3 separate regions of the Homo sapiens genome follow, and all the other regions are linked to region 2. The links are contacts of gene promoters, found by promoter capture Hi-C in human tissues and cell types (Jung and others, 2019). All regions are on one chromosome and are shown on one strand. Each heading gives the region's core, a stretch centred on a gene start or on the middle of the fragment in contact. The rest is flanking DNA. Distances are from core to core; before and after follow the strand shown. Region 1 has its middle 15 kb from the start of OR7C2. Region 2 holds the start of NDUFB7 (NADH:ubiquinone oxidoreductase subunit B7). Region 3 holds the start of ASF1B (anti-silencing function 1B histone chaperone).

Region 1 (4,097 bases), core at 60-2,559, 350 kb after region 2:
TAATATTAATGGTGTGACTGGAGGTGAGAACAGCTTGCTATAAACACAGTCCCAGGAGTCCTCATTCAGCTTCAAGTGTGTGCCTGTGTGTGTGTCTGTACTAATTGTGCATATGTGTGTCTGTCTTTAGTGGGGAGAGTGATTTCAAAATAACATCATTAAACAGAATTGAAAGGAGCCTTGCTAATTAACTGAAACAAGATATGAAGTAGCAATAATTTAATGTTTTCAACATGGATAAATAATTAAAGTTGCAAAGACCTAGGCATAAAAGAATATGACATACAAATGAGGTAGAGATATCCCTTTTAAGAGTAGAGGGACGCAGTGGCTCACGCCTGTAGTCCCAGTACTTTGGGAGGCCGAGGCAGGCAGATCACGAGGTCAGGAGATCGAGACCATCCCGGCTAACATGGTGAAACCCTGCCTCTACTAAAAATGCAAAAAAATTAGCCGGGCGTGGTGGCGGGCGCCTGTAGTCCCAGCTACTTGGGAGGCTGAGTCAGGAGAATGGTGTGAACCTGGGAGGCGGAAGTTGCAGTGAGCCGAGATCGCGCCACTGAACTCCAGCCTGGGCAACAGAGCGAGACTCCGTCTCAAAAAAAAAAAAAAAAAAAAAAAAAGTAAAGGGACCTGGACTCAATATATTCCAAAAGGTGACTCAGAATACAGAGGTCAGCACGCAAGGCAGCATATGGAAATAAACAAAGGATGCATTTCAATTCATGGGACATGGAGCCAATTTATTAAAGTGCAAATAGAAAACATCAGGACAAGCCTGGGCGTGGTGGCTCACGCCTGTAATCCCAGCACTTTGGGAGGCCGAGACAAAAGGATCACTTGAGGTCAGGAGTTTGAGACCAGCCTGGCCAACATGGTGAAGCCCCATCTCTACCAAAAAATATAAATCTTAGCAGGGCATGGTAGCAGGCACCTGTAGTCTCAGCTACTTGGGAGGCTGAGGCAGGAGAATCTCTTGAACCCAGGAGGTGGAGGTTGCAGTGAACCCACATCATGCCACTGCACTCCAGCCTGGCCGACAGAGTGAGACTCTGTCTCAAAACCAAACCAAACCAAACAAAATCTGGGCAGAGGGACTTCTTGTATTTTGAAGCTTCAGCAGCAATGAAGTCACCTCATAGTGCAACATCTTCTGACACCATCTCCCATCACTTACCTCTCACAGATTTCCCTGCCACACTGGCTTCCTCGTTGGCCTTGAACATCTGAAACCTTCCTCTACACCTTTGCACCGGCCATTCTTTCTGCTGGGCACACACATTCCCAGATATCCTCATGGCTCCCGCCCTGTCTTCCTTGAGGTCTCATTTCTCTTTTTAAAAATTTCAGCTTTTCTTACAGATTAAAGGGTACATGTGCAGGTTTGTTACACGGGTAAATTGTGTGATGCTGAGGCTTCGGGTCCTAACAATCCCATCACTCAGGAGGTAAGCATAGGACCCAACAGATGGTTCTTCAGCTCACATCCCCCTCCCTCCATCCTCTGTCCAGCGGTCTCCAGTGTCAATTGTTCCCATCTTTGTGTTCACGTATATTCGATGTTTAGCTACCATTTATAAGTGAGAACATGCGATATTTGGTTTTCTGTTCTTGCATTAGGTCGCTCAGAATAACGGCCTCTAGCTTCATCCATGTAGCTGGAAAGGACATGATTTCATTCTTTTTTATGGCTGCCTAGTATTCCATGGTGTATAAGTACCACAGTTTCTTTGTCCAATCCACTATTGATGGGCACCTATCACCTTGACTGCTAGTATTCTCTGGACACCTAGGAAAATTAACATCCTCTATCCACCCTCGCCTTTTTACCTTCTTTCTTTTTCTTGCTAGCCCTGGTTACCATCTGACACAGTATATGATTTACTTGTATTCTTCTCCATACTTCACTGTAGGAACTTTTGTTTTTCAGCACTGTTCACTCATTGTCTAGACAGAGCCTGGAACGTTGACAACACTCAATTTAAATTCCTCAAATCCATGAAAGAATTTATCATTAAAGTATTGGTTTTTGTTTTGTTTTGTTTTGTTTTGTTTGAGATGGAGTTTTGCTCTTGTAGCCCAGGCTGGATGGAGTGCAATGGCGCCATCTTGGCTCCCTGCAACCTCTGCCTCTCAGGTTCAAATGATTCTCCTGCCTCAACCTCCCGAGTAGCTGGGATTACGGGCACGCACCACCACATCCGGCTAACTTTGTATTTTTAGTAGAGATGGGTTTTCTCCATGTTGGTCAGGCTGGTCTTGAACTCCCGACCTCAGGTGACCCGCCCACCTCTGCCTCCCAAAGTGCTGGGATTACAGGTGTGAGCCACCGCACCCGGCAAAGTTTTTAAATAAATGACCATTTGGGGAAAAGTTGAGCATCATGGGAAAGGAATTCCTAAGCAGAGATGGGATGGGAGATCTCATAAAGTAGACCAGATTCACACACAAAATATAGAAATTAACTTGCTGACTGTAGGATATAAATAATAGCTTTTCTGATGGGTGAAAAAAGCATGCTTATGTCATGTATTTTCTCTCTCTCTCTTTTTTTTTTTTTTATAGTCACCTCTACCACATGGAACCAGAGAATGATACACGAATTTCAGAATTTCGACTTCTGGGATTTTCAGAAGAACCCAGACTGCAACGATTTCTCTTTGGTAAAAGGCAAAAGATTTATACAATTTGAAGAGAAACCAGAGCATAACGATTTCTCTTTGGAGTGTTCTTATCCATGTACCTCATCATTGTATTTGGAAACTTGCTTATCATCCTGGTTATCATTTTATGCTCCCACCTCCACACCTCCATGTACTTCTTTCTCTCCAACCTGTCCTTTGTAGACATCTGTTTTGCCTCCACCAGGGTCCCAAAGATGCTGGTGAATATCCAGGCACAGAGCAAAGTCATCACCTCTGCAGGCTGCATCACCCAGATGTACTTTTTCATACATTTTGTAGGATTGGACAGCTTCCTCCTGACTGTGATGGCCTATGACCGGTTTGTGGCCATCTGTCACCCCCTGTACTACACGGTCATCATGAACCCTCAACTCTGTGGATTGCTGGTTCTGGTATCCTGGATCACAAGTGTCTTGCATTCCTTATTACATAGCTTAATGGTGCTGCAGTTGTCCTTATGCAGAGAGTTGGAAATCCCCCACTTTTTCTGTGAACTTAATCAGGTCATCCACCTTGCCTGTTCTGACACCTTTCTTAATGACATGGTGATGTATCTGGCAGCTGTGCTGCTGGGTGGGGGGATGTCTCGCTGGGATCCTTTACTCTTACTCTAAGATAGTTTCCTCCATATGTGCAATCTCATCAGCTCAAGGGAAGTATAAGGCATTTTCCACCTGTCCGTCTCACCTCTCAGTTGTCTCCTTGTTTTACTGTACAAGCCTAGGAGTGTACCTTAGCTCGGCTGCATCCCACAACTCACACTCAGGTGCAATAGCCTCAGTGAGGTACACTGTGGTCACCCCCATGCTGAACCCCTTCATCTACAGCCTGAGGAATAAGGACATAAAGAGGGCTCTGAAGAATTCTTTGGGAGGGAAACTAGAAAAGGGCCAGTTGTCCTAGGGCTGAAGCTATATCCATGATTGCAAGGCTCAAAGCCTCAGAGCCAGATATTGCTGTTGTTTAATCAGATCATGGAAGTGGAAACTGCTCTTTTTTTTTTTTTTTTTTTTTTTTGAGACAGAGTTTTGCTCTGCTGCCCAGGCCAGAGTGCAGTGGCGCCATCTCCGCTCACTGCAAGCTCCACCTCCTGGGTTCATGCTATTCTGCTGCCTCAGCCTCCCGAGTAGCTGGGACTACAGGCACCCACCACCGCACCCGGCTAATTTCTTGTATTTTCAGTAGAGACGGGGTTTCACTATGTTAGCCAGGATGGTCTTGATCTCCTGACCTCGTGATCCAACCGCCTCTGCCTCCCAAAGTGCTGGGATTACAGGCGTGAGCCACTGCGCCGGGCTGGAAATTGCTCTATTTATTTCCTGAAGTTTCCATTTCTTTTATCTCAACTGCTTCATCAAATTTAAGCAACTCCTATTATTAAGCTTTCCTCTCTCTCTAATATTCAACAGATTT
Region 2 (4,065 bases), core at 380-2,879:
TGATCTGCCCGCCTCGGCCTCCCAAAGTGCTGGGATTATGGGTGTGAGACACCATGCCCGGCCTCAATTTTTATATTTTTAGTAGAGATGGTGTTTCACCATGTTGGCCAGGCTGGTCTCAAACTCCTGACCCCAGGTGATCTGCCCGCCTTAGCCTCCCAAAGTGCTGGGATTACAGGCATGAGCCACCACGACCGGCCACCCTTCACGTCTTTGTTTCCAGCCACTGCCTCTTGGAAGCCTGCTTTGACACCCCCAGCTCTGCCTGATTCCACAATCTTTCCCACTGTGCTGAGTTCTCTGGAGACAGTGCCTGCATCCCTCCAGTTCCCTGCTGTATCCGCGGTGCCTAATGTGGGACGTGGCCCAGAGCTGGTGCTCGGTATGCCTGTGATATTACTACATTAAAAGCAAAAACAAACACACGAACCAAAAAACCATCCTGGGCGTAGTGGCTCACATCTTCAATCCCAGCACTTTGGGAGGCTGGGCAGAAGGATCGTTTGAGCCCAGGAGTTTGAGACCAGCCTGGGCAACACAGCAAGACCCCCAACTCTACAAAAAATAAAAAATCAGTCTGGCATCCTGGGGCGCTCCTGTAGTCCCAGCTACTCGGGAGGCTGAGGCGGGAGGATCATTTGAGCCCAGGAGGTCGAGGATGCAATGAGCTGTGATTGTGCCACTACACTCAGCCTGGGCAACAGAGCAAGATCCCGTCTCAAAGCAAAACAAAGCACTTTGCAGGACAGTATTTGCAGCTCGAATCTTCCTTATTTCCTTGTGCATACCCCACAATTGCAGTGACATCAGGAAGGGGGTACAATGAACGTGTCCCTGCCCTCCCATGACTCCCCACGTCCCCCAAGACTTGGCCCGAGGCCGGGCGTGGTGACTGACTTCTGCGATCCCAGCACTTGGGGAGGCCGAGGCGGGCGGATCACTTGAGGTCAGGAGTTCAAGAGCAGCCTGGCCAACAAGGAGAAACCCCGTCTCTACTAACAATACAAAAAAGTAGCTGGGCATGGTGGTACACATCTGTAATCACAGCTACTCGCGAGGCTGAGGCAGGAGAATCGCTTGAACCCGGGAGGTGGAGGCTGCCAGTGAATCGAGACCAAGCCACTGCACTCCAGCCTGAAAGAAAAAGCGAGACTCCGTCTCAAAAGAAAAAAAAAAAAGACTCGACCCAGCTCTGCGCGTCGCATTCCTGCCCGAACCCCCACTTGTCGCCTCACTTTTGCTCCCTGGCTTTTGCTCAAGCCGTGCCCTTGGGCTGGAACGCCTCCACACTGAGGTGGGGTCATGCACGTCCTGTGGACTCCTAGTCTAGACCCAAACCCAGATACAACACCTGAGGTTAGAGCCCAGCCCTGGGGTGCCAGCCCTGGGGTGCCAGGTGTTCAGGCACCCGCGCCCCACGCCCTCTGGCTGCGCCTGCGCACTGGGCCTCACCGCGCTCCTTGCGTTCGGGGAAGCCGTAGTCTGGCGGGAAGGTTGGCATCTGCAGGGGGTCGGGCTCCACCGAGGCATCGCCCAGGTAGCGCCGGACCAGGTGGGCCCCCATGGCTGCAGTCGCTGCAGATCCCTGCAGCAGCCGAGGGTCACCTAGCTCCTACCCGGAACCACTGACCCCTCAGTCAGACACAGCTTCCGGGTCATTTAGGCAGCTGCGGAGATCATAGAGATGAAGGACTCCAGAGGATCGCTCCGGTCCGCCTGGCGTCACCTCGCGGACAGGCGGAGGCGGGACAGGTGCTGTGTCTCTTCGCAGGATATGGTTGGACCCGAGAGGGGACTTCCCTGAGCCTGGAAATCCATCTGGGCGGGGCAGAAGGGGACGGTGTGGGACTGAGGCCTCCCTCGACCCTATCTGGGGCTCTTCTGGTAGCCCGAGGCTAAAGCACATATTAAAATTATTTTTCATATCATTTTCCAAAAAGTTTTTTCTTTGAAAACATTCAAATTTCTCTTAAAAAAGGCACGATATCTATTATATCGTTAATGTATGTAATTTTGCATAAAGTCACTTTAAGAATTTTTTGTTTTTGGAGACACAGTACCTGTCGCCCAGACTGGAGTGTATTGGCGCGATCTCGGCTCACTGCAGCCTCCACCTCCTGGGCTCAAATTCTCTTGCCTCAGCCTCCTGAGTAGCTGGGATTACAGGCGCCCGCCACCACCCCCAGCTAATTTTTGTATTTTTAGTAGAGACGGGGTTTCGCCAGTTGGCCAGGCTGGTCTCGAACCCCTGACCTCAAGTGATTCCCCCGCCTCAGCCTCCCAAATTGCTGGGATTACGGGCATGAGCCACAGTGCCTGTCCAAGAAAGATTTTGATAAATTTAATTTAAATAAAAGTTATTCATAAATACAGTTATTATTATATTATTATTTTTTGAGATAGGGTCTCATTCTGTCGCCCAGGCTGGAGCACAGTGGCACAATCATAGCTCACTGCAACCTTGAACTCTTGGGCTCCAGGGATCCTCCCGCCTCAGCCTCTCAAAGTGTTGGGATTATGGGCGTAAGCCACTGTGCCTGGTCAAAAACAATTATTTAAAGCTGAAATTTCAAATAAATTATATATATATATGCAATCTTTATACAATTTTAAAATATATTAATATCTAATATTAATATCTAATATATATTTTTCCCCAGTCTGACAAAGCATGTATTAGGCATCTACTGTATGGTATGCTGGGTCCAGTGGTCAGACAGAAAGGCAGACGTGGTTCCTGTCTTTCAAGCTTACAGTCTAATGGAACAGAAAAACAGTCTAATGGAAAAAAAAAAATATGGGCCAGGGCAGTGGCTCACACCTGTAATCTCAGAGCTTTGGGAAGCTGAGATGGGAGGATCGCCTGAACTCAGGAGTTTGAGACCAGCCTGGGCAATATAGGGAGACTCTATCTCTACAAAAAAAAAAAAAAAAAAAAAAGCTGGGTGTGGTGGTGCACGCTTGTAGTCCCAGCTACTCGGGAGGCTGAGGCAGGAGGATAACTTGAGCCCAGGAGTTCCAGGCTGCAGTGAGCCGTGATCCCATCACTGCACTCCAGCCTAGGCAACAGAGTGAGACCCTGTCTATAAAAATTCCCAGGTGATGTGATGTTGCTGGTCTAGTGACCAGCTTTGGGAGAATTACTCAACTAGATCTTTATGTGTTGACATGGGGAAGTGGCTGCTGATATATTAAGTGAAAAAAGCAAGCTATTGAGAATAGACAACTGGCAATAGAGACTTTTCTTTTTCTTTCTTTTTTTTTTTTTTTTTTGAGACAGAGTTTCACTCTTGTTGCCCAGGCTGGAGTGCAGTGGTGTGATCTCGGCTCACCGCAACCTCCGCCTTCTGGTTTCAAGCGATTCTCCTGCCTTAGCCTCCTAAGTAGCTGGGATTACAGGTGGGTGCCATCACGGCCAGCTAATTTTTTTTTTTTTTTTTTTGAGACGGAGTCTTGCTCCGTTGCCCAGGCTGGAGTGCAGTGGCGCAATCTCGGCTCACTGCAAGCTCCGCCTCCCGGGTTCACGCCATTCTCCTGCCTCAGCCTGCCGAGTAGCTGGGACTACAAGCGCCCGCCACCACGCCCGGCTACTTTTTTTGTATTTTTAGTAGAGACGGGGTTTCACCGTGTTAGCCAGGATAGTCTTGATCTCCTGACCTTGTGATCCGCCCGCCTTGGCCTCCCAAATAATTTTTTTGTATTTTTAGTAGAGACGGAGTTTCATCATGTTGGCTAGGCTGGTCTTGAACTCCTGACCTCAGGTGATCCACCCGCTTCGGCCTCCCAAAGTGCAGGGATTACAGGCTTGAACCACTGCGTCCAGCTGAGACCTTCTTTCCAGGGCTACCTGTGTGACCTGTCCCTATCTCCAGGCCACCACATTAATCTGTGATTCTTGTGCCCTTCTAGACTCAAGGGGGCAGCATTCACATTGTGATCTCTATGAATGGTGCTTCTGGAGTTGTGCCGTGCACAGCCTGCACAGCTGCATCCAGTAACCCTGACGTGTTCTGGGCGTGTCTCCTTAATCTTCCTTTCTCTGTGCTTCAGCTGCTCACCCAGAGG
Region 3 (4,205 bases), core at 1,552-4,051, 440 kb before region 2:
CGCACAACCATTTTTTTTTTTTTTTTTTTTTTTTGAGACGGAGTCTCGCTCTGTCGCCCAGGCTGGAGTGCAGTGGCGCGATCTCGGCTCACTGCAAGCTCCGCCTCCCGGGTTCACGCCATTCTCCTGCCTCAGCCTCCCGCGTAGCTGGGACTACAGGCGCCCGCCACCACGCCCGGCTAATTTTTTGTGTTTTTTAGTAGAGACGGGGTTTCACCGTGTTAGCCAGGATGGTCTCGATCTCCTGACCTCGTGATCCGCCCGCCTCGGCCTCCCAAAGTGCTGGGATTACAGGCGTGAGCCACCGCGCTCGGCCACAACCATTTTTAAATGCAAGGAACACAAACAGGCTGATTGAAACCTGATCTCCTGCCGTCGGGGAGCTGGGAATCCCTCAACCTATTACTTCCTTCCATCTCCTCCTGGCTTTTAAATTAAATCTTATTCCACAGCGTCATTCTACACTTTATTTATTTATTTACCCGCTGCCTTGTTCCAGAAAGGATTTAACTCGGCATATTCTATAGTTAGCCACAAGTAGACTCCTTAATTTAAAAAGGAGCGAGAGAGACCGGGGAGAGACAGACCCACTGGCCTACCCAAAGCACATCCACATCTCACTCTATCAGCTCCAAGCTAGTCCAGGCGACCAGCTTTGAGGGCAAAACACCTACCTGCCCCCGAGAGGCACTAGTTAGCATATCCTGGCTTCACAGGCCCCCAGATCACCACCTCCTCGGCTGCTGCCTTTTCTCTTTCAACCACCAAGTAGAAAAATGGCCTAATGGAGTACTTCTTCCTGAAAGCAGGACTTGCCTGTTAGTGGTGCCAAGGCTCCCTAGGTGACCTTAGATTTTGGATTTGTACAGGCCTTGACTTGAAAGGTCTTTTGCGTTTTGTGGCTCCTGTCTTCTCATCTGTGAGATGAGAGCCATGCCCACCTTTAAGTCACACAGATTAATAAGTACATCTACGGAAGCACCTTGGAAAAGATGTACAGGAGGCTGTGACCTCCAAGCTCCAGCCGACTGTTTGAAGCTGGAGCCCGTCACAGCTCAGCCCAATCCACCCACCCCCCAGACTAGGTCAGACCATCAAAAGCAACGGGAGCTTGGCACTGATTATCCAGCTATATTAAAAAAAAAAAAGAAGAAGACGGGGCACGGTGGCTCACGCCTGTAATCCCAGCACTTTGGGAGGCCAAGGCGGGTGGATCACTTGAGGTCAGGAGTTCGAGACCAACCTGGCTAACATGGTGAAACGCTGCCTCCACTAAAAATACTAAAATTAGCTGGGCGTGGTGACAGGCGCCTGTAGTCCCAGCTACTCGGGAGGCTGAGGCAGAAGAATCGCTTGAACTCGGGAGGTGGAGGTTGCAGTGAGCCGAGATCGTGCCATTGCACTCCAGCCTGGGCAACAGAGTGAGACTGTCTCAAAAAAAAAAAAAAAAAAAAGAAGAGGAAGAAGAAGAAAGAAAAAGTGACAGAAAAATTGCTGCAGTAACTCAGCTGGAAACGGGTGGGCAAACCTGGAGAACTAGCTAATGCCTGCCTGGCTATGCCACCCCTCGGATCTCAGTGTGTTTATCCAAGCCCACAGAGAAAGGTGGGGAAGGGGAGCTGGGGAGACAAAGTTCCCCTCAAAGACGGTAGCATCCTTTCCCAGGGAGAGCTCAAGCATAGGGGGGTTGGGCCCCAACGAAGGAGAGAAACCAGGTTCCAGGGTATGTGCATTGGGGCAGAAAAGCGGCAGCAACTGGTGGGCGTGGGGTTATTGAAATATTGGCAGGTTGGGGAGGGGACTGGTGGGACACAAATGGGAAGATGGGGTTGAGAGAGGTCCTGAAAAGGGGTTGAGGGGTTTTCACAGGAAAAAAAGGTTACTGGAGGGGAGGGTCTTCACGGCAAGGAGAGAGGAGCTTGGGTGAGAGGTCTCCATAGGGAAAATAGGAGATGGCTGGGATTTCCCCCGGGGAAAATGGGAAGGGGCTGGATATTGGGGGTCTCCAGAGGGAAAATGGGAGGTGTGAGTATCTCACTACAGGAAAGAGGGAATAAGTGGGCAAAAATGGGTGGGTGGTTGAAGCGGGGGTCTTGCCACAGGGAAACCACGGTGGCTGAAGATCTCCGTGGGTTAAGAAATGGAGGCCGAGAAGGTCTCCCCATGAAAACGGGTACCTAGGAAGAGCTCCAGAGAAAAAAGATGGATGAGGTTCCCCACGCGGGAAATGGGGCTTGGAGGGGGTTAATCTCTATGGGGAGGTCGGGGCGGGCAGTGGGGGAAGAGGCCACTGGGAGGTCCGAGTTAGCTGGCGGGGGGTCTCCACCCGGGAGGTCAAGGCGGGCAGTGGGGGAGGAGGTCACGGGGAGGTCCGTGTTGGCTGGTGGCGGGGGGTCTCCACCGGGAGATCCGGTTGACTGGCGGGCTGGGGGAGATCGGGGTTGGCGGAAGGGGGACGAGGGGTTTCATGGGGGAGATCAAGTTGGCCATGGGAGCGGTTCTCTGAGGGGAGGCCGGGGTCGGCCCGGGGGTGGGGGTCCCCGCACAGGCCCAGCCTCACCGTCCGCCAGGGCTTCACTGCACTCGAAGCTGATCTCGAACCGGAAGGGGCTGTGGAAAGGGCTCGGGTTCTCCAGGACCGCCACGTTCAGCACCGACACCTTGGCCATCGCCTCGCCTCGCCGCGCCGCAGCAGGGGCAGGGGCTGTGGCTGTGGCGGAGGCCGCGCCTGGGTCCGGTGGGGTCAGTGGGGTAGGGCTGACCAGGTCCACTCCCGCCTCTTCTCTCCGAGAACTGAAGTGCGCACCTAGTCCGCGCGCCGCCTTCAAATAGCCGGCCTCCGCCCTCTGGCCAATCACCGCCAACGCTCCCTGGCGGCGCGCGCACCCCCTCAGCCAGTCCTGGAGCGCCGATCGGCGCGCGCCCAGACTCCTCGGACCAATCAGCGGAGCTCCCTCTCCGCAGCGTGTGAGGAGGGCGAAACTATCTCCAAGCTTCTTAGCGTGTCCGCTGGAAACCAATCCCCAGCGTCTCCGACTTGGATGTCAACGGCGGGAATGGACGGAGTCACAGCGCCGGCCTCCTTCTGGCCAATCCTGAGGGTTCCCGCACCGGCGTGGCCCGCCCCTCGCCTCGCTTTTCCGGGAGATGCATCCCGCAGCGCGCAGCGCCGCCACCCGCCGAGCGGTGGCGCGCGGCGCTCGCTAAAGAAGGCGGGAAGGGCGGTGCTCGCACCCGAAGTGATTGGCAGGAGGGAGTGGGGCGGAGATAAAGAGGGTTTTCTGAGAGTTTATTGGCTGGATTGGTAATGGTGGCGGGAGCAGAAGGAGGCTCAGCTGGGGATTCGCTGGAGAGAAGCGGAAGTCGAGCGCCACCGCGGTGTTGGCGAGTGTGAAGAGAGAGGAGGAGCGTTTGCGGCCTCAGCGTCTGTCAACAGGTGAGCGTTTCCTGGAGCTTTTCTGAGTGGCTCCTGACCCTTGAGGTCCAGCGGCGCGGGAGTCCGTTGTGAACGTTGCGAACGTTCGGAGTGGCGGTCACGAGGCGCGCTCAGACCTCGGGAATCCGGCCGGGTTCGGATCCCGCTTTCGCCCCCGAGGGGTTCGGATCCCGCTCTCGCCCCCGAGGGGTTCGGATCCCGCTCTCGCCCCCGAGGGGTTCGGATCCCGCTCTCGCCCCCGAGGGGTTTGGATCCCTCTCTCGCCCCCTTGAGGGCTCTTGGGAGGTTTCAAGCGGACGGTACTGAAAATGGGAGTTCCAGTTCGGGGGCAGACCAGTGTTCAGAGTCCGGGCTCTGCTACTCAGCGCCCGAGGCAGCGCCTCCCCATTCAACGGGGGCCGTGGCAATTCCCTGACATGATTCATGACCACATAATACATCCGGAAACTTCTCTCCACCGCCTCCCGTCTGGGCCGTCGCCCCCGGCCTGGGAGACTCCAGGTCTCAGAGTCTCTGCCCCCACGGGCGATCAGTGCTGCCCAGTGGAAAAATAATGCCAGCCGCGCACCAAAATTAGGTGTAAAATTAACATTTTTTGGAAGCCACTTTTTTTTTTTTGAGATGGAATCTCGCGCTGTCACTCAGGCTGGAGTGCAATGGCGCGATCTCGGCTCACTGCAACCTCTACCTCCCGGGTTCAAGCGATTCTCCTGCCTCAGCCTCCTGAGTAGCTGGGATTACAGGTGCCCACCACCACAACCAGCTAATT

What was found. Contacts are between HindIII fragments. The study calls those that stand out against the background at their distance.
Region 1: a fragment that was not itself captured here is called in contact with the fragment with the promoter of NDUFB7 in region 2 in 5 of the 25 tissues and cell types used here (H1 embryonic stem cells, adrenal gland, mesendoderm cells and 2 more).
Region 3: a contact is called between the fragment with the promoter of ASF1B here and the fragment with the promoter of NDUFB7 in region 2, in 1 of the 25 tissues and cell types used here (spleen).

What each region holds. Positions count from the first base shown.
Region 1 is chr19:14,924,474-14,928,570 of GRCh38, forward strand. It overlaps the pseudogene OR7A15P. Among named protein-coding and RNA genes, the nearest start is that of OR7C2, 15 kb to the right of the region's middle. The HindIII fragment of the contact is 7,045 bases long and covers 1-4,097 here.
Region 2 is chr19:14,570,437-14,574,501 of GRCh38, forward strand. NDUFB7 (NADH:ubiquinone oxidoreductase subunit B7) reads right to left here and starts at 1,630. Exons shown (of 3, transcript NM_004146.6): 1 at 1,453-1,630. The coding sequence starts at 1,564. RefSeq lists an enhancer at 1,562-1,851. The HindIII fragment of the contact is 12,939 bases long and covers 1-4,065 here.
Region 3 is chr19:14,133,788-14,137,992 of GRCh38, forward strand. ASF1B (anti-silencing function 1B histone chaperone) reads right to left here and starts at 2,802. Exons shown (of 4, transcript NM_018154.3): 1 at 2,561-2,802. The coding sequence starts at 2,669. ADGRL1-AS1 (ADGRL1 antisense RNA 1) reads left to right here and starts at 3,365. Exons shown (of 3, transcript NR_045214.1): 1 at 3,365-3,436. RefSeq lists a silencer at 2,568-2,617 and enhancers at 2,948-3,087, 3,165-3,791, 3,288-3,447. The HindIII fragment of the contact is 6,304 bases long and covers 949-4,205 here.